7 separate regions of the Homo sapiens genome follow, and all the other regions are linked to region 1. Evidence: promoter capture Hi-C in human tissues and cell types (Jung and others, 2019). All regions are on one chromosome and are shown on one strand. The core of a region is centred on a gene start or on the middle of the fragment in contact, and the rest is flanking DNA. Distances in the headings are between cores, read along the strand shown.

Region 1 (2,794 bases), core at 189-2,688:
ACATAGTGAAACTCTGTCTCTACTAAAAATACAAAACTTAGCCAGGCGTGGTGGTGGGCGCCTGTAATAATCCCAGCTACTCGGGAGGCTGAGGCAGGAGAATGGCCTGAACTCGGGAGGTGGAGCTTGCAGTGAGCCGAGATCACGCCACTGCACCCTAGACTGGGTGACAGAGCGAGACTCCGTCTCAAAAAAAAAAAATACAAAAAAAATTAGCTTGGCATGGTGGACACCTGTGGTCCCAGCTACCTGGGATGCTGAGGCAGGAGAATCACTTGAACCTGGGAGGCAGAGATTGCAGTGAACCGAGATCACACCACTGCACTCCAGCCTGGGCAACAGAGTGAGACTGTCTCAAAAAAATAAAATGTAATAAAATAATAATGTCAATGCACACCCCAGAACTTCATCTAGCTTGTTCACCATTATGTTCCCAATGCAGTGATGCAATCATGGCTCACTGCAGCCTCAAACTCCTGGGCTCAAGCAATCCTCCCACCTCAGCCTCCTGAGTAGCTGGGACCACAGGCATGCACCACCACATCCAGCTAATTTTTGTATTTTTAGTAGAGATAGGGCCTTGCCATGCTGCCCAAGCTGATCTTGAACTCCTGGCCTCAAGTGAATCTCATGCTTTGTCCTCCTAAAGTGCTGGGATTACAGGTATGAGCCACCTCGCCCAGCCAAAACCTTTTTTTTTTTTTTGGAGATGGAGTCTTACTCTGTCACCCAGTCTGGAGTGCAATGGCGGGATCTCGGCTCACTGCAACCTCCACCTCCTGGGTTCAAGCAATTCTCCTGCCTCAGTCTCTGGAGTAGCTGGGATTACAGGCATGTGTCACAATGCCAAGCTAATTTTTGTATTTTTAGTAGAGATGGGGTTTTGCCGTGTTGGCCAGGCTGGTCTTGAACTCCTGACCTCAGGTGATCCGCCTGCCTGGCCCTCCCAAAGTGCTGGGATTACAGGTGTGAGCCACCTTGCCCAGTCAAAACCTTTTTTTTTTTTTTTTAAATCTCAGATCCTGAGAATGACCCTATGAGGTAGGTATAATGTAATTTTCATCTCATGAATGAGGTTCAGAGAAGTCAGGTGACTTGCCCAGGGCCACACAGCTAGTGGGCAGAGAGCTGGGATTTGAGCTGCAGTGTGCCCATAGCCCTTCTGTATACCCTGCCTGTCTCTTGAGTGTGCCCCATAACCCCAGCCTCACCTTGTGGTGGCAGATGTGGCCTCCCCACTGAGGTCTTCTCTGTGACATCCCACAGCCCTTATCCTTACCCATGGACACATTCAGGCTGTTGTCCAGAGAGCCTGGCTGTAATTTGAGTCTCATCAAGCAGGGGGTGATGGCGTAGGTGGGTGGGTGACAGCCAGGGCAGGGAGATTTGCCCAGACACTGGTACACAACAGCCTGGCAACCCGTGTGGCCCCGAGGAAGCTGGGAGCCTTTGGGGTGCATCCCCAAGTCTGGGCTGTGGTTCACACCATGGGCAACAAGCAGACAGTCTTCACACACGAGCAGCTGGAAGCGTATCAGGTAGAGGGGGGCAGGATGGGTCCTCAGTGGGTTTGACAACTTTGGTTCCGTGGTCTGGGAAATGGGAACAGAATGCCTTCATCTGGGTGTACCGTCCGCCTGGGTTCCTGGTTCTGCTCTGTGTGTGGCAGCATCAGGCCATCTGTGTGAGTGTGGGGTGGAGGGAGGAGGCCGTGGGAGGAGGCCCCAGAGGCAGGGTTCGGGTTAAGACAACACCTCTCTCCACAGGACTGCACATTTTTCACAAGGAAGGAGATCATGAGGTCAGTCCAGGGAGGAAGGGAGAGAAGATCTGGAAAAACAACTTTCTATTCATTGCTGGAGGATATTTGCAATTTGGTGTGTGTGTGTGTGTGTGTGTGTGTGTGTGTGTGTGTGTGTGTAAGTAGTCTTTCTTTCTTTCTTTCTCTTTTCTCTCTCTCTCTCCCTCCCTCCCTCCCTTCCTTCCTTCCTTCCTTCTTTTCTTTTTTTTTGAGACAGGGTCTGTCTCTATTGCCTGGGCTGGAGTGCAGTGGTGCAATCATGGCTCATTGCAGGCTCGATCTCCCAAGGTCAGGTGATCCTCCCACCTCAGCCTCTCGAGTAGCTAGGACCACTGGTGCGAGCCACCACATGTACCTCATTTTTGTATTTTTTTATAGAGATGGGGCTCTCACTATGTTGCCCAGGCTGGTCTTAAACCCTTGGGCTCAAGCGATCCCCCTGCCTCAGCCTCCCAAAGTGCTGGGATTACAGGTGTGAGCCACCATGCCCAACTGGTATTTCCAATTTGTTGGGACTCAAATGGGGAAGGGGGGCAGGTGTGGTCAGTGGACAGAGGCAGAGATGGAGAAGCTGACAAGTCACATCTTGTCATACTGTCCCAGTCTCTAGGCTGATGAGCTTGGGCTTTCTCCCAAGGGTGGCAGGGAGCTATGGAGCATGCATGAGCAGGGGAGAGACCATCAGCACGTTAGAAAGATTCTCCTGAGGCTGGGCGCGGTGGCTCATGCCTGTAATCCCAGCACTTTGGGAGGACAAGGTGGGTGGATCACCTGAGGTCAGGAGTTTAAGATCAGCCTGGCCAACATGGTGAAACCCCATCTCTGCTAATAATACAAAAATCAGCTGGGCGAGGTGGTGGGTGCCTGTAATCCCAGCTACTCAAGAGGCTGAGGCAGGAGAATTGCTTGAACCTGGGAGGTGGAGGTTGCAGTGAGCCGAGATCACGCCACTGTGCTCCAGCCTGGGTGACAGAGCTAGACTCTGCCTCAGAA
Region 2 (2,794 bases), core at 89-2,588, 970 kb after region 1:
CTGTAGTCCCAGCTACTCGGACGGCTGAGGCAGGAGAATGGTGTGAACCCAGGAGGCGGAACTTGCAGTGAGCGGAGATCATGCCACTGCACTTCAGCCTGGGCAACAGAGCGAGACTCCGTCTCAAAAACAAACAAACAAGTAAACAAAAACCCAGAAAAAATTAGCCACGTATGGTGGCGCACACCTCTAATCCCAGCTACTTGGCAGATTGTGGGGGTGGGGGCTGAGGAAGGAGAATCGCTTGAACCTGGGAGGTAGAGCTTGCAGTGAGCCAAGATAGGGACACTGCACTCCAGCCTGGGTGACAGAGCGACACGCTGTCTCAAAAAAAAAAAAAAAAAGAAAAGAGAATTAATCAAATTGAGCCAGATAGGCTGAGGCCCAAAGCTGTGTGGGGTATGGGGGTGGGACTAGGGGGCTGGGGTGACCCTTTGAGAGTCACAGAGGAAGTGGGTTGCTTTCTGGGAGGGCTGAGAGCAAGAAGAGTTTGTGTGTGCATGTGTGAACACACACACATGCATGTGACTCCTAGTACGTGTCTGAGGTCTGAGGCTGCAAATGTAGTCCTAGGCTCCTGGCCTGGCTGAGTGAGTTTTAGCGGTTTTTTGTTTGTTTGTTTTGTTTGAGACAGGGTCTTACTCTGTTGCCCAGGCTGGAGCGCAGTGGTACGATTTCGGCTAAGTGCAACCTCAGCCTCCTGGGTTGAAGCGATTTTCCTGCTTCAGCCTCTCGAATAGCTGGGACTACAGGCGTGCGCCACCACGCTCAGCTAATTTTTGTATTTTCAGTAGAGTCCGGGTTTCACCATGTTGGCCAGGCTGGTCTCCAACTCTTGACCTCAAGTGATCCATCCACCTCTGCCTCTCAAAGTGCTGGGATTACAGGCCGGAGCCACCGCGCCCGGTCCGACTTTTAGGTTTGTGAATGTTTTAGATCAGAGTCCTGGGGAAGCTTGGTGCATGGGCTTGCATTTGTGCGTCCGTGGCTGTGGGTCCATGAGCCTCTCAGGACGTGACTGGCCTCAGTTTCCAGAGTTTCTGGGAGGCTGTGTTTTTTGTCCCGGCTCCAGAGGTGTCCGGCTCTGGGTGTGTACTGGGGGATGGGGATGGGGTGCGTGGGCGTTCACGAGGTTGGGTGTGCCCGCCACTCCGGGTTCTGCCCGCGTCTCACTGCATGCTCGGCCTGGGTTTCCGAGGGTCCGCGCGTCCCAGGCTGTGCGGGTGGAGGGTGGGCAGGGACCCCGGGAGGCCGGGCGGGGGGCGGGGGCGCGCTGGGCCGGCCCCGGGGCGGGGCGAGCCTTCGAGGGCTGGGGGCGGGGCGGCCCGGCCGCCTCACTTCGGCGAAGTTGGCGGCGCGGAGGCTGGCCCGGGACGCGCCCGGAGCCCAGGGAAGGAGGGAGGAGGGGAGGGTCGCGGCCGGCCGCCATGGGGCCGGGGGCCCGTGGCCGCCGCCGCCGCCGTCGCCCGATGTCGCCGCCACCGCCACCGCCACCCGTGCGGGCGCTGCCCCTGCTGCTGCTGCTAGCGGGGCCGGGGGCTGCAGGTGAGGGGCCGGGACCTGGCGGATGGGACGAGGGCGGCAGAGGGGGAGTGCAAGAACCCCCAAGGCCGGGGCTGGCGGGGGTTCATGGGAGGCAGGAACCAGGGTCGGGGAAGGGGCGCAGGAGCCCCGGGCTTCATGCCAGTCCTGGAGGACCCAGAGATTCAGAATGGGGAGGACCCCAGAGGCCCAAGGAACAGGGACCCTTGAGCGATTAGAGCTGAAGATGAAGGGACCCAGGAGTCCGAGACTGGGAGCTCGAGGTGCGGGGATCAGGGACTCGAGGTGGGGGGGTGCGTACAGAGTTCGGGACTCGTCCCCATCCAACTCACGCCTGGAGTCCTGGGTAGGTTATGATTGGGGGCCCAGGTACTTCTAGGCCGGGGACCTCTCGCACAAAAGCCCCCCCACCCCGCCCCCGACACCCCGGGCGGGCTGGGCCAGGCGGGGGGTGGGGAGGGGGCGCGAAGTTCTGGGAGCTCTGAACTCGGAGAAAACTTCCCAGGCCGGCGCGCAGCAAGACCCGGAGCCGGATTCCGAGCCGGAGCCTCGGCGGCGCGCGCGCCCCCTCCCCCGCCCGCAGCCCGCCTCTCTCCTCTGGCCGCGGGGACCCGGAGGCCCTGGGACCCCGCCCCTGCGCGGGGAGGGGAAGGGGCGAGGGCCCACGTGCTCCCCTTCGGCTCCAGCGCCCCCTCCCCGCGGCCAGAGCCCCTCCCCAGCCGGCCAGGGGCCCCCGCCCCTCCTCCTCTCCTCCCTCCCCTCCCCCGCTCGGGACAATGGCCGCGCCGTCTAGACACCCCCTCCCTCCGGCCGGCCTCGCGCTTTCTTTGCCAGACAAAGCGGGACCCGCGGCTGGGCCGGGGAGGGGGCTGCGGGGGCACCCCCCTCACCGCTACGGGAGGCCTGGTGGGCGGGGGAGGGGCGCGGGCCAAGGCCCCTGGCCAGGGGTCCCAGACGCCAGTGTGGGGCTTGGCGCTGGGCGGGGTGGGGGTTTCGGGAGTGAACGGCCTCCCCAGCCCAGCCCCGGGGCCCGGACGGGGCAGGACCAGGCAGGAGCCGCCGCCTCCGCCGGACCAGCGGCGCACACACATGGCCTGTGACACACTCGCTGGCACACATAGCTCTAGGTCACGTAACAGAGATGCAAACCTGCACACACACAGCACACTCGCAGACTTGCACACCTGGCTCAGGAAAGACACACCCAGCTGCACGCACACAGCTCACACATTGACATACATACACACACAAA
Region 3 (2,794 bases), core at 172-2,671, 790 kb after region 1:
GTTCTGGGAAGGGATTAATGAGACAGATTTTTACTTTTCATACATTGTGTCAAACTGCTTTCCAAAAAATACGGAAACAGTTGATCCTCCCACCAGCAGAGAAGACTCTCTTCACCCTTGCATGACTGGGAATAATTCTTCATTCTTGGAATTCTGTGGGTTAAAAAAGACGTTTCATTAAATATCTGTTCCTGTTTTTATATCTTCCCCGTTGGCCCCAAAGTGCTCCTTGCCTATTAGCCTAGTTGGCACCTTGTTACAGGTTGCACCCACCTTTGGCTCTTAGTTTCTTAATTGTTCACTGCTTATAGCTTTTTTGTAAGCAAATCAGATTTCTGTAATACAGCCGTAAAGTTAGAGATATATAGATCTGTATTTTTATTTACCTACAGTAAGTGTGGTGTGGAAGGAGAGGGAATTTGAACAAAGATCAGATAGGTTGTGGTTCCATGCTTGTGGAGTGGCCCTCCGTTGGTGGGGCTGGAAGTGCGTGGGTGCAGGGGCGGGGTGGGGTCCCTCTAAGCTGGCAGGGTCGGGGCAGCAACTTGTAGGGCACTCAGAGCAGCCTCTCCAGCTCCTTCTGCCCTGCCCGCAGCTCATGATGGAGCAGTCCAAGAAGTCCTCCCTCATGGTGGCCCGCAGTATTCTCAACAACAAGCTCATCAGCAAGAAGCTGGAGCGCTACCTGAAGGTGAGGCACTGGTCCGGGCCTGCCCTGTCCCCAGCTTAGTCCCCGCCTGTGCTCCCTCCCTTCAGTGTCCGCGCCCCTCCCCACAGGGCGAGAACCCTTTCACCGACAGCCCCGAGGAGGAGAAGGAGCAGGAGGAGGCTGAGGGCGGTGCCCTGGACGAGGGGGCGCAGGGCGAAGCGGCAGGGATCTCGGAGGGCGCAGAGGGCGTGCCGGCGCAGCCTCCCGTGCCCCCAGAGCCAGCCCCCGGGGCCGTGTCGCCGCCACCGCCGCCGCCCCCAGAGGAGGAGGAGGAGGGCGCCGTGCCCTTGCTGGGAGGGGCGCTGCAACGCCAGATCCGCGGCATCCCGGGCCTCGACGTGGAGGACGACGAGGAGGGCGGCGGGGGCGCCCCGTGACCCGAGCTCGGGGCGGGCGGAGCCCGCGTGGCCGAAGCTGGAAACCAAACCTAATAAAGTTTTCCCATCCCACCTCCGGGTTTCTCTGTTACTGTGCCGCGCGGGCGGGGCGGGGTGGGCAGAGGGGCGGGGTGCGCATGCGCGCGGGCCGGGCCGTCGGGCACCGCGGTGGGACCACAACTCCCATTAGGCCACGGAGCTGGATCGTAGCAGCCCGAAAGGCCAGCTGGGACGGCGAGGGCGGGCCCTCGTGAAGACCAGCCAATGGGGGCGCGCGGAAGTAGTGACGTGTGCGCCTGGTCTTCCAGTAGTCGATGGCGGAGGTGCGCTGAACGCATGCGTGCTGTGGTCGCCTAGTAAACGGGGCTGCTGGTGGGCCGCGTCGAAGACATGGACCAGGGCTACGGAGGTTTGTGTTGGCTGCTGGGTGCGGAGCGGGGAGGGAAGGCTCTGTGCGGGCGACGCAGCCGCTGCGCAGACTGCCGCCGGCCGGGCCTTCGTCCCGAGCGTGGTTGCCCCAGCTGGGCCCTCCGGAGAGGCGGCCAGGGCGCGCGCGCGCCGCTCATTGGGCTTTGGCGCCGTCGCTCCCGGGGCTCTGCGTGCGGATTGGCCGCCAGGCCCCGAGGAGGCGGGCGGGACTCGGGGTTGGGGCAGACGCCGCGGTGGGCTTCGTGGGGGCGTCTTAGACAGTGTGGGCCGTTTTTGCCCCTCACCTTCGGCGGAGTCCTTCCGGCCCCCAGCGACCCCGGGGTTTGCACTCCCGGCTTCCTCTTCCGAAGACGCCACAAAATGGCGGCGCTAGGGGGGCGGAGCTACAGCGTGGGGTTGTGAGGTCGGACCCGGGGAGCTGGGTCTGGGGCCGCGGGCGGACCGCGGGGGCCGCCTCTCTCCCGACCTGCCCTAGGCCCGCGGGGCCGTGTAGGGTCTCCGCTGGGCTCACGTGGCCCAGGGCGCCTGTCCCGGAAGCCGTCGGGCTGCGCGGGGTCGGGCCTTTAGTCCCCGGTGCAGCGCGGTGGGGCCGAGTGCTGCCGGCGCGAGAGTCAGCCTCGCCGGGCTCCAGCTCTGTACCCGGCGCGTGCTGGCTTGGGACAGGATGGTGAGGGGCAGATGCTGAGTGTTCGTATAAAGCTGGAAACCTGATGTGCCCTGGGGCTGGTGACATTGGCAGTTCTCCTTTAGGCAGTCTGTTGTGGTGGCCTGGAGGGGCCGAGGGGCTGTGCAGGAGGGAACGTGTCCTTTCCCCACTAGGATTTAGCGCTTGGCCTGCAGTAGGGCCGATCTTCTCGAGCTGCCTGCTCCCTGCTTCTGGAATCAGAGCCTTTTGGGAGCAAAGTTTGCCCACAGGGGATAGTTGGGACATGCTGGGTGGAGCTCGACTGGTTGTAGAGAAGCTAGTGGTCTGATCCTGGCTGCAGGAGCTCGAGAAGTTGTCGATCTTGAGAAGTGGCAGGGCAAAAGTATCCCAGCACCAGAAATTGCAGAGAGAGGTTTCGGTCCTGAGGCGGCAGCGTGCGCGGTGTGCTTTGGTGTCTTCCGGGTCCTAGCGAAGGCTCAGCCTGGCTCTCCTGGTCTTCCGCAGCCTGGGTAGATTTCACCATTCTTTCCCTTCTTTCCCATCAGATCTTTTCTGCAGGTATTGTATTCCTTCTTTTCATTCTTAGTTTGGAGAGGTTTTTTTTACCCCCTCTTCCTACCTGCCGAAAACCTT
Region 4 (2,794 bases), core at 177-2,676, 750 kb after region 1:
GCCAGAGTGCTTATCCGTCAGATCTCTGCTTCATGTTTGGAGTTTGCTCACTTAACACATCAGAAGTGGCTTTGTTCCGTATGGCAGCAAGTTCTGCAGAAGCCTCATTTGGGTGGGGGGAGTTTTATTAAAACAGTTTATCATGGAGAATTCCAACTATACAAAAGTAGAGCAAACAGTAAAATGGACTCTCATCTATCCATCACCAACCCATGACCAATGTCTTCAGCTGTCAGAGATTTATCTTATAGCTCCTTGCTTCCTCCTCCTCTCTCTACCTGTCTGAATTGTGTGAAGCACATCCTGGCCATAAGATCAGTTAACTTCTTAGTATTTCAGTATGTTTCTCTCAACGTTGTAAATGCCACTATTACACCTAAAGAAATCAACAATATCAAAAAGAAACAGCATACCTTAAAAAAAGTTTTAAAACACACGAAGCGTAGAAGTCGTAATTGCGCAGCTTAATGAGTTTTCACAAACACACGTGTTAAGTACTCTTCGGTGCAGCTCTGTCATCTCTAGAAATTATGAGTTGTCCCTGGCAGGGTTTCCATATGCCCAGGAAACAGACTGAGGACATGACTGGTGCCCGGCTGCACTATTGCAGGATCTCTCGAGCCCAGAGTGAATCAGGAGGGTTTTAGAAGCAAAGCTCCCATTTTAACACGTAACTGTCAAGGACCTTGAGCAAATCATGAGTTCCAAGCTTCAGTTTTAAGTGAGGATTAAAAGCTTTTTGCAGGTTTGAAGGAGCATTCGAATGACACACAATACAAACGGAATTATTACACATATAAGCATATGCCATATAAATATATTATCGTTTTGTTACGATTAATCACATTTATTCAGTGCACTGGCACCAGAATGATTTCTTTACACACACTTTGTCACGTAATGTTGAAACGTGTGTCCAGCATCTTGTTTGGTGCTGTTTTAATTTTCTCTTCTCAACATGGCTTTGCTATGCTTGTTTTGGAGCCGAAGGCCAGAGAATTTGAGAGACTTAGCTAGGTCCCCTACCCAGCACCTCGGTGGCGGAGTTGGCATCCCAGCCCTGCCCTGAGCCGTAGACCCGACTCCCTCTGGCGGGTCTCCAGGGTACGGGCGCTCCTCCAGCCCGACCATGCTTGGGCCTTGGGCCTTTCCGTAGTGCACAGCTCCGCCCCCTCAAATTCTATAGGACTCCGCCTCTCTGCCGGCTTCTGTAGGCCAATCACTGAGGCCTTAGAATAACAGAAGGCGGGGACAAGGCGGGGCTCTCACGAGATTGCCAGCAGCTTCCAGCCACTGATATGAGGAGGCATAGAGATAGACAGCGGTTCCTTCCAATAGACGTGAAGCCGAGGCCGGTATGAGCCAATGCGGTCGGGAGGCGGGGCTCGGGTGTGTGTGGAGGGGACCCTGTGGTTAGCAGCAGCTATCGCAGCGTCGGATGTTCAGAGCAGCAGAAGCCGGCGTCGTCGGATGTTGTGTTGCCCGCCACCATGAGCTACACAGGTGGGCCTGGCAGGGTGGGGTCGGGCTCTGCGTGGGGGATGGGACAGGGACGTGCGGATGCCGCACCAGGCTTGCCCGCACCTCCCCTGGGGCCCCGTCACTGCCTTCCCTGCGGTCACAAAATGGCGCCGCTGGCCCGTCGCCTCAGGGTCGCTGCCCTCACGCCTCGTTGCCTCAGCTCTCTGTGTCTGCAGCCGGCGTCCCGGCTCCCGGCCGCCTGATGTCTTGGCTTCTGTCGCCTGTGTCCGTGGGTCCGGGCCTCAGCGCACGAGGTCTCCGCCCCCACCACCTCCGTCCCTGGCCTGCGCTCCTGGACCTCGACGCCTTAGGTTTCCCTTTCTCAGGCCTTGGTCCTTGCGAGCAGGCAGCAGGCTCGGCTGCCGTCGCCATTGTCGCGTCCTCCCCCGCGCAGTTTCTCTGCAAAAACGCCGCAGCTCTACACCCCCATCCCGATCCCACCCACCACCCCCTTTTGTCTATTTCAGAACTGGGAAAGGCGCCAGGCCCTAGGGGGATAAGTAAATATTGGAAGGGTTTGGGCTGAGCGGGGAGCCTTGGGCCCCTAGGGGCTGAACTGCAAGGAATGACAAGGTTCCATGTTAATTCCCTCTGCGTCTGTCAAATGAACCGTGTCCGGTACAGACTGGGTATTGGGAATACAGACAAGAATTCCTCAAGCAGCTTAGAGGCGAGGATCTTAATAGGCAAATAAGCGAGTGTAGGATATATTTTAGGGTGGTCAGTACCGTGCGGGGGTCGCTCCACTACGTGGAGTGGTTGGAGCCTTCTGTAAAGAGGTGACATTTGAGCAGAGACCTAAATGGAGGGAGCGAATAAAGATATCTGGCCCAGGGAGCTTTTGCTGTAAAAGGCTTACGGGCAGGAACTGCCTGGCTTGTTAGAAGATCAGCCAGGGAGGCCAGTGGGAGGCCAATGGGATTTGAAAGGGAGAGTGGGTGACAGATCCGAGAGCCCCTCTCCGCCCCCCGCAATATGCTTGGGCGACTGTAAATCATCACTGGGTGAATTGCCAAGGCCTCCTGGGTTTGCCTTGGCAGTGACTGATGAGGCTTCTCGGCCAGGAGACTTACACTAGGCCTCCCTGTTTGGTGAGGGTATTATAGGCTTGAGCGTGTGTGGTTGCCAGGTAACCTGCATTCTACTTGGAATTTTGAGAACTGAGAATGCAACGTGAGTCTGTGGGGCTCCTTTGTAGACCACTTTATGTTGGCATAGGCAAGAAGGTAGTGCCAGTCCCCTCTACCCTGGCTGCCAGGTCAGGAGCTTTCCA
Region 5 (2,794 bases), core at 141-2,640, 720 kb after region 1:
AATGAAGCATGGATTCCACCCCTGGCAACCTCCCAATCCCACAGTGAGAGCATCTTCCTAGGCCCTCCTCATGTCACGGAGGCCATGGGTCTGGGAGGCGGATAAAGGAAGGGGGTCAGGTGTGGAGATGGTTGGATACTGTGTATGAATGATTGGGTAAATGAGTCATTCAAATCATGGGTGAGTGGATGGGTGAGGGGTAGAGTGGGTGGAGCAAACGGCAGACGGATAGGTTAGCATTTGCTGGATGTTTGACCTGGTAGGTGAGTAGCTGGGTAGTTGGTTAACCAGGTTGGGTATGTCTGCCTAGAAAAGGCCTGGTTCATAGTAAGAAAAAATTTTTTTCAATGTTGTGATTATATATATCATATGTACATATGTTGAGGTCTCCTGAGACGCCTGAGAACTGGGCAGTGGAGAAACAATAATGAACTAGACAGGACTCCTGGCCTCATGGAACTTACATGTTAGTGGAGGGACCAAATCAACAGACAAACTGGTGGATGGATGTTTGGGGGGCTGGGCGGAAAGATGTGTGTGGGGATGGTTGGGTACTTGCTTGGTTGTATGGATAAATGAGTATTTACTTGGGTGCTGGATGAATGGGTGGGTAGATGGGAAGTGAATGGGTGGGTTGAGTGGGTGTTTGGGTGAATTAATAGGTGGTTGGAGGGGTGGGTGGATAGGTGATTAGTTCATTGGATAGGTAGATGAGTGATTGATAGATTGAGGAAGTGGATGAGATAGCTAGGTGGTTAGATATCTGGATACATGGTGGATAAGACAAGACAACAGGCCATGATGTGTGTCTGATGGGGTAGTCCTGGAAGCTGTGATCCTGGGAACTGGGTGGAGAAGGTGACTTAGGACTGAAGACCTAGGGCAACTCTAGGGACATGGAGGTGCTGAAGTCCAGTGTGGATGATTGGGAAGGAGGGAGTGAGCTTGTGGTTGGAAGGTAGCTGATGGGGGGCAGGGGACAAAAGGCTAAAAATTGGCTGGGTGGAGTCTTCAATGACCTATCAATGACCCATCAATGACCCATGGGGGAACTTCTCTGCACCCTCCCCACTCTTTTAGTGCTTTTAGCGAGCCTACCATTGGAAGTACCAGTGGGACGATAAGGAGCCATTGGGGTGTGGGACGACAAGGGTGTTGTCATGGTAACGGGGCCTCTCCCTGGACTCAGGCCGTGCGGGCCCTTTAAGGGTGACCCGCTTGGCCACTCCCAACATGGCGGCGCGCCCGCTGGCCGCCCCCCCCGGGGCGGCGAGGGGGGGGGGGGTGGGGTGGGGGGGGCGCCCCGGACCTCCCCATCATGGCGGCGCGGCGGGGCTGTCGCGCTGAGGTCACGGCGGCGCGCCGGGGGGGCGGGGCGGCGGGGGGAGCGATTTAAAGGGACAATGTCCCCCGAGCGGTGGAGGCGGCGGCGGCTGCGGAGGCCGCGGCACCGGCACCGGGAGCGGCAGCGGCGGTAGCGGCAGCGACGGCCGCACCAAGGAGGGGAGCTCCGAGCCCCGGCACCTGGCCGGCGGCGCCGCCTCCCCGGTGAGGCCCGGCCCGGCCTGGGGAGCCCGCGGGTGGGGCGGAGCCGTAGCGGGGCGGGGGAGGCCCCGGGCCGGGCCGGGCCAGGCGGGACCCCCCGGGGCGGGGGCGGGGGCGGGGCCTTCAGGGGCGGGGCCTGGCCGGGGGCGGGGCCGTGCAGGTGGGGGGAGGGGCGGGGGTCTTGGGGCAGGTGTCCCCCCTACCTCGGCGCGTCCCGCGGGGTCTCCTGCCCCGGGGTGCACGGGCGGAGGGCTCATCCCCCGGACCCTGGACCCCCGAGGAGTGGGCCCGCGCGGCGCAGCCCCCACCTCTGCGACCCCTGGGGGGCGTCCGGGTAGGAGCCCCCTCCCCACGCTGCCAAAGTGCTCCGAAGTTGCGGTCCCGCCCGTTCCCCGCGGGCAGTGCCCACCCAGTGGACAACCGCAGGTGCTTCCTCCGGGCCTGGGTAGGGACCCCCACCAAGACTGCCAGCCCACGGAGGAGCCCCCTGGGAATCCCCAGGCCCCCGAGGGCAGCGCCTGCAACCAGGCCTGGCGCCCCGGCCCCGCCCCGGTTGCCTGGGCCCGGCCTCCCCACCATCTCCCTGGGGAGGGCGCCTCATTCCTGCCCTTCACTTTCCGCCGTTACCTTGAAGGTATTTATAGGTAGAGAGGACAACCCCCGCTCCCCAGGGTCCTCATTTCTGGACCAGGAGCCCTATCGTTTTCTTTCGCCCGAGGACTAGAGCAATCTTGGTTGGGGGGTGGGGGGAATGGAGGAGCCCAAGCTGGGTATGCATGAGGGATAATGTTGGGGAGAAGCGAAAGGGTTAATGCTGGGGTCACTTGAGGCTGTGTGTGTGGAGGGGGGTGAAGGGGTTAATGCTGGAGAACCCTAAGGTCCTGTGTGGGGGAAGGGTTGGAGTGTGGGAAAAGTGCAGGGATCATTGGTATGGGACAACCCAATGGAGAAAAGTAAAGGGGTAATGATGGGAGACTCCTGACGGTGTATAGGATCAGAGTGTACAAGTGGCTGGGATTCTTGCCGAGGAAACGAAGGCATGGCAGTAGGATGTGCGTGTGCATGGATGTGAGGGCAGGACTGGGGAAAGTGCAGCTGTGTGTGAATGAAGGGAGGCGTCTGGAGAAATGGTAAGATTGATGGAAGAAGACCAGGTGGCTGAGTGTGCATGTGTCAATATGGGTAAACTGAGGCAGTGCAGGATCTGTATAAAGGGGAGGAGTTATTGATGGGGAGACGGAGGCATGCT
Region 6 (2,794 bases), core at 104-2,603, 600 kb after region 1:
ATATAAATAAATTTCACTTATTGTGAATCTGCTGTTATTTAAAATCGTAAGACAAATACAAAATATTCATTAAATTCTGTTGGGGCAACTAGCCATTTGGAGGAAAATGAATACATTCCTACAACAATTCTTATACTATCATAGACTTCATAGAGAAAAAAGTAATAAATATTTTTAAACTAAAATAATAAATAAAATATTTTAAAAACAAATAAACCCATCAGAGGAAAACAAACATGAGTTTTACATTTTAATTTTAGAGCATGAAAGAATGTCCCATGCATGATTTAAAAAAACAAAAACATGGCCAGGCGCAGTGGCTCACGCCTGTAATCCCAGCACTCTGGGAGGCCAAGGTAGGTGGATCACCTGAGGCCTGGCCAACATGGTGAAACCCCATCTCTACTAAAAATACAAAAATTAGCTGGGCATAGTGGTGGACACTTGTAATCCCAGCTACTTGAGAGGCTGAGGAGGAGAATCACTTGAACTCGGGAGGCGGAGGTTGCAGTGAGCTGAGATGGTGCCACTGCTGTCCAGCCTGGGTGACAGAGCAAGACTCTGTCTCAAAAAAAAAATAATAAAAATAATAAAAAAAACAAAAAACGGCACGTATAAAGGAAAGAATTTGACTGCAAATAAATTAATCAAGCCAAAATAAATGAATGAAAACCAACAATTAATTCAAAGACAATCTGAAAAAGAACTTTGCAAAACAGAAAAAAAGAACTAGTTTTCTTAATCTGTGAGCAGTGCTTATAAATCAATAAGAAAAAAACTACAAAACCCAAACTAGAAGGAACAAATTGTGCAAACACTTCACAGAATAAGAAATACCCATGGTCAGTAAGTGAAAACAATGCTCAACTTTACCCAGGCTTAAAGTGATGTTCATTGAAGTATTATGTTGCATCTATCAGATTGGCAAATGTTTTAAAGTTTCATAATAGACACTTTAGGGGAGAATGTGAGGAAGGCATTCTCAAAATGTGTGTGTAGGAGCTATTGAATTGTCAATCTCAAATGGTCTTCAGTTCACCAACTGCACTTCTCAGAATTGGTACTGCAAAGCTGCTCACAGATGTAAGCAATGGTCAGTGTACATGGGTGCCCACTACATCATGTTAGTTATAGCAAAAGCCTGGAAAGCACACAAATATCCATCAATGGAGAAATGTTTTGATGAATTACAGTACATCCTTATGAGAGAACACTATGCAGCTATCAAAAAGGAGGAAACAAAGAGAACTAGTTCTACAACACACTGGAGAGTTAATCAGTGCAGAGACTCTAAAAGGCAATTCGGCAATATCTATTAGAACTGAATAGGTTTGGCCAGGCGCTGTGGCTCACACCTGTAATCCCAGCACTTTGGTAGGCTGAGGTAGGCGAATCCCCTGAGGTCTGGAGTTCGAGACCAGCCTGGCCAACATGGTGAAACCCCGTCTCTATTAAAAATACAAAAATTAGCTGGGCATAGTGGCGGATGCCTGCAATCACAGGTCCTCAGGAAGCTGAGGCAGGAGAATCACCTGAACTCAGGAGGCAGAGGTTGCAGTGAGCAGAGATTATGCCACTGCACTCCAGCCTGGATGACACAGTGAGACTGTCTCAAAAAAAAAAAAAAAGAAAAGAAAAAAGAAAGAAGTAACAAAAAAGAAAAAATAATTGAATGAGTTTAATTGCAATAGATAGTAAAGGCAAAAATCCTGCAACATTTCCTTTGCTCCAGGCTGAGTACCAGGCCCTGTTTCTGAGCTCTGCACCAATTCCCACTAGGCAGTAATAGCACAATCACCAATAAGACCTTCTCCCTTTCCCACCTGAAGAGCTAAACCAATGAGAGGGACTCAGGAACAGGTCATGAGGACCTGCACACTCACCATTCAATCTCTTTAGGATCACCGTTCTTCAGGAGCTCTTGCACCTCCTGTCGGCAGTGCTCCTGGTATTCTGGGTACCTCGCGAGGTTGTACAGGACCCAGGAGAGACCACTGGCCGAGGTGTCATGGCCTGAGGGGCAGCCAGGTAAGCTTGGGTCTCTGGGCTGCTTCAGCACCCAAGGGTGGACAGCACCCATGTATTGAGGCCCTCAGAAGGAAGTGGGGAAGGAAGATGGGATGGGGTGATCCAGGGTCCACTCACCACATCCCTGGAATGGAGACACTCCTACCCCTAGTGACATCACACCCTGGGACCCTCACCCCCAGACATGAAGGTGTCAGCCTCCGCTCTTATGTTCTCATCTGACAACTTCTTTCCATTTTCATCCTGGAGACAAGACAAGACCTCTAAATTACACCAGCCATGAAGGCACCTGAGTCTAACCTAAAACAGTTCATGAAGATCCATATTCCAGGCAAGATTCCTCCCTTATCATCATTAGACCTGCCTAGCAGGACTCTTTCCCAGTCTCTTGCCTCCTGTTTGCTCCTTCTAGGAACTCTTCTACAGAGTCACCTCTAAAATATATCTTACTTGTCCCTCCTTTCCTCAAGCACCTTCCATGGCTCCCCAGTGCCCTCTGGATCAAGTCCAAGTTCATGGATCTGACATTTCACGTCAAAGTCCATTCTACTTCTGAAATTCAGATCCCAGAGTAGCCCACCTTGGCCAGCAAGAGCACGTCAATGAAGTCCAAAGTCTTGGACTTGGCCTTGGCCTGCAGGAAGTCATCGACACCCTGGCTAGTGAGGGTGCGACGCCGCTCCTGGATGACAGCATCTGTGAAGTTGTGCACTATGTCACAGGCCCTGCAGAAGCGTCGCCCATTGGGAGTGAGGAAGTACAAGAA
Region 7 (2,794 bases), core at 151-2,650, 530 kb after region 1:
CCCTCCCACTTCACCTGTGGACACACCCATCAATCCTGCCATTTGCAATGAGCAGATTGAGACCACGTTCCGCAAAGGGGAGAGCAGGTCTAAGTCAGAGGGCAAGGTCTGGGGGAGGAGAAAGGTCAGGGAAGGCTTCTGAAAGGGGAAGTGAGTGGCCAACTTTTATGTGGGTTTGGCAACAGGACCCCATTGGGACATCTTACTGGGGAGGAACAAGATAAGAGGAAGGTGCCTCCGGATGTGGTGGAGGTGAGAGACAGCCCACACCTCTCCTCTGGCCCACCTATACCCTCATAAGAGGAAATAGGCCAGGTAGGGAGAGGACCCTGAACAGTGGGTACAGGAGGCCTCGAGTCCAGCAATGGAGAATGTGGGAACGCCAGGGGTTCACCTTTCTGTGCACCCAACCCCCTGCCCAAGAGCCCCGCAGAGGTGCATTAATGTGGAAAGACAGGCAGGAAAAGGATTCAACACAGGCCAAGAGTGGGAGAACAGGGAGGTGAGAAGGGCTTGGGTTGGCACCTCACAGAAATGAGTAAGCAGAGGAATGAGTAAGACGCCTCCCCTGCTTCTCTGCCACCCCAGACCCCAGCCCACCCCCTCTCACCTGAGCCTCATTCTTACCCCTCAGGAAGTCCATCCACCCTGAGACCCCAGACCCGTCCTGCTGCCACACTCACCAGGCCCAGGTGACCCAAGAACCAATTCCGTTTCGGGGGTTGCGGGAAACACCGGAGGCGGCAGCAGTTGTCATAGAAGGTATAGGTCCAGGCCAGGATGCGGGCCAGGAGCCAGGAGGCCCCAACCAGCAGCAGGAGCAGCCACGGGGATGCTGCCATTGGCCAAAGGCCCAGCGAGGACAGGCTCAGCTGTGGCATCCTGCAGGGCAGATGGGGTGGTGAGTGAGGTCCTGAGGCCCAGGGAAGGGCCCAGGGAGCTCCAGGGACAGTGGAGAGAGGCAGAGACGGGCAGTGCTGGAGATAGAACAGTAAGAGTAAACAGGGATGGATAAACAGGGGCTGAGGGGTAAAGTCCAGAAAGGCCCAGCCAAAACCAGCAACCAAGTGGCCTCCAGTTACCCGGTAAGCACTTAGATTGAGAAAGACAGAGAAACTGATTAAAGTCCAGAAAGGCCCAGCCTGAATCATTAGGACGTTGCCAGGGGCTTGGTTTCAGTTAGAAAACCACTCATCCTCCAAGCCAGCAACCAGGAGCTGCCTGGGCCTTGGGCAGCAATGGAGAATGTGGGAAGGCTGGGGCTCCCCTATGTGTGCGCCCAATCCCTTGCCCAGTGCCCATCTCCATCACAGGCTAGGATGCCCCAGGCCCACCACCCCCACCCTGGCACCTTCTGTCAGGAGCACCTTGTCCCACACAACCTCCTCTCCCCTTCTTCTGGGAGGTTTTTTCCCCTGGCCCCTGATGTAGGGAAGGCTGTGGGAGGCTAGGCTGGGCTGGGCTGGGCCAGCCAATCCCCACAGCCTGGGTGCCGCTCCCATGTCTGGGCAGCTGGCCAAAACCTGGGTGTGGGAGACCAGCTGGATGCAGAGGAACCAGCTCAGGGTGACACAGCACAGGCACTGGATCCTCAGGTCTCAGCACCTCCCACATAAGGTGGAGAGTAAGCCGAGAGGGGTCAGATAGAGTTTCCACTGTGTGACACCTGCTCTTAAAGAGCACCTACTGAGTGTGTGGCAGATAAAAGCATGAACTTGAGAGTTCAGGTGTCAAGCGAGCCAGGCCAGGCCAAGCCTTGTTCCAGATCATCTCCTGTGCTCCTCTCTAACCCTGGGCCGGTAGGACACCGTGTACCACTTCTGGATGCTGAATCAGGCAACCTGGAAGAGACAAGCCTCTATCCCCCTGCTGCTGGATGGAGTTCAAGTCTTGCCTCCAGGCAGTCCAGGGCCCTGTTGGAGACCTGACTGCTAGGAACGGGAACAAAGAATCCAGCCCCACTGAGGATTACCTGGGTCAGATTCTGGAGATTAAGAGCTCAGCTGGAAAAGCAAATCTGGAGGCCGGACTCAGTATAGGAGGACAGAGCGGGGACGTGGAGGGTTAGGATGAGAGGGAACGGATGGGGTCCAGGCAGGGGAAGGGCAGAGCCAGGGAACCATGAATGGAGTCCTCATTCTGCCTCATCCTTGCTCTGACTTTGGTCAGTACTGCCCCTCCTGGGTGCAGTCTTCCCATCTGGGAAATGGGATGTTCGATGAGGGCCTTAGCGGGGGACAATGAGGGCTCCTAAGAGGAGGGAGCCCCAAAAAGGAGTGAAGGGAAAGGGTGGCAACTAGCACTTGAGCTGCTGTGTGCCAGTCTCTACTCTGCACAAAGGCTGCATGGAAAGTACTTCTACTGTGTGCCAATACTCTAAATGAAGGGCAGCTACTGTGTGCCAGGTGCTAAATCCTGTCTACTCTGTGCCAAGTGCTTTCCATAAAGTGTGCCTACTGTGTGCCAGGTGCTCTACATTAACCCTGTATACTCAGTTCCTGATATTCCTCATAGAGTGCCTACTGTGTGCCACCTGCTCTACATAGTGAGTGCCTATTGAGTGCCACCCCCTGTATATGAAGAGTGCCCACTGAGCACCAGTTGCTGTCTACATAACACATGCCTACTGAGTGCCAAGTGCTCTACATAAACAGTGCCTACTGATACCACCTGCTCTATATGGTGACTTCCTACTGAGTGTTTCCTGATCTACATAAAGAGGGTCTATTGAGTGCTGCCTGCTCGAGTGTTGCCTGTGCTCCATAAAGTGTACCTACTGTGGGCTGCCTTCTGT

The links. Contacts are between HindIII fragments. The study calls those that stand out against the background at their distance.
Region 2: a contact is called between the fragment with the promoter of NOTCH3 here and the fragment with the promoter of CIB3 in region 1, in 3 of the 25 tissues and cell types used here (IMR-90 fibroblasts, mesendoderm cells and pancreas).
Region 3: a contact is called between the fragment with the promoter of AKAP8 here and the fragment with the promoter of CIB3 in region 1, in 1 of the 25 tissues and cell types used here (adrenal gland).
Region 4: a contact is called between the fragment with the promoter of AKAP8L here and the fragment with the promoter of CIB3 in region 1, in 2 of the 25 tissues and cell types used here (mesenchymal stem cells and spleen).
Region 5: the fragment with the promoter of WIZ here is called in contact with the fragment with the promoter of CIB3 in region 1 in 2 of the 25 tissues and cell types used here (dorsolateral prefrontal cortex and spleen).
Region 6: a contact is called between a fragment that was not itself captured here and the fragment with the promoter of CIB3 in region 1, in 1 of the 25 tissues and cell types used here (dorsolateral prefrontal cortex).
Region 7: the fragment with the promoter of CYP4F3 here is called in contact with the fragment with the promoter of CIB3 in region 1 in 6 of the 25 tissues and cell types used here (IMR-90 fibroblasts, adrenal gland, dorsolateral prefrontal cortex and 3 more).

What each region holds. Positions count from the first base shown.
Region 1 is chr19:16,172,169-16,174,962 of GRCh38, reverse strand. CIB3 (calcium and integrin binding family member 3) reads left to right here and starts at 1,438. Exons shown (of 6, transcript NM_054113.4): 1 at 1,438-1,538; 2 at 1,767-1,801. The coding sequence starts at 1,488. The HindIII fragment of the contact is 31,728 bases long and covers 1-2,794 here.
Region 2 is chr19:15,199,539-15,202,332 of GRCh38, reverse strand. NOTCH3 (notch receptor 3) reads left to right here and starts at 1,338. Exons shown (of 33, transcript NM_000435.3): 1 at 1,338-1,545. The coding sequence starts at 1,428. RefSeq lists enhancers at 454-953, 954-1,455 and a silencer at 2,042-2,268. The HindIII fragment of the contact is 7,500 bases long and covers 1-2,794 here.
Region 3 is chr19:15,378,414-15,381,207 of GRCh38, reverse strand. AKAP8 (A-kinase anchoring protein 8) reads left to right here and starts at 1,421. Exons shown (of 14, transcript NM_005858.4): 1 at 1,421-1,495. The coding sequence starts at 1,477. AKAP8L (A-kinase anchoring protein 8 like) reads left to right here. Exons shown (of 14, transcript NM_014371.4): 13 at 596-691; 14 at 778-1,158. The coding sequence ends at 1,086. RefSeq lists silencers at 796-1,285, 1,626-2,175 and enhancers at 450-1,364, 1,136-1,430, 1,365-2,280. The HindIII fragment of the contact is 19,214 bases long and covers 1-2,794 here.
Region 4 is chr19:15,417,620-15,420,413 of GRCh38, reverse strand. AKAP8L (A-kinase anchoring protein 8 like) reads left to right here and starts at 1,426. Exons shown (of 14, transcript NM_014371.4): 1 at 1,426-1,503. The coding sequence starts at 1,491. WIZ (WIZ zinc finger) reads left to right here. Exons shown (of 13, transcript NM_001371589.1): 13 at 1-436. The HindIII fragment of the contact is 22,741 bases long and covers 1-2,794 here.
Region 5 is chr19:15,448,552-15,451,345 of GRCh38, reverse strand. It overlaps WIZ (WIZ zinc finger), which reads left to right and starts at 1,390. Exons shown (of 13, transcript NM_001371589.1): 1 at 1,390-1,548. MIR1470 (microRNA 1470) reads right to left here and starts at 1,798; the gene lies at 1,738-1,798. RefSeq lists silencers at 1,366-1,495, 1,546-1,665, 2,016-2,125. The HindIII fragment of the contact is 11,591 bases long and covers 1-2,794 here.
Region 6 is chr19:15,576,650-15,579,443 of GRCh38, reverse strand. It overlaps the pseudogene CYP4F23P. Among named protein-coding and RNA genes, the nearest start is that of CYP4F8, 37 kb to the left of the region's middle. The HindIII fragment of the contact is 3,197 bases long and covers 1-2,794 here.
Region 7 is chr19:15,639,503-15,642,296 of GRCh38, reverse strand. CYP4F3 (cytochrome P450 family 4 subfamily F member 3) reads right to left here and starts at 1,400. Exons shown (of 13, transcript NM_000896.3): 1 at 1,352-1,400; 2 at 684-882. The coding sequence starts at 881. The HindIII fragment of the contact is 9,363 bases long and covers 1-2,794 here.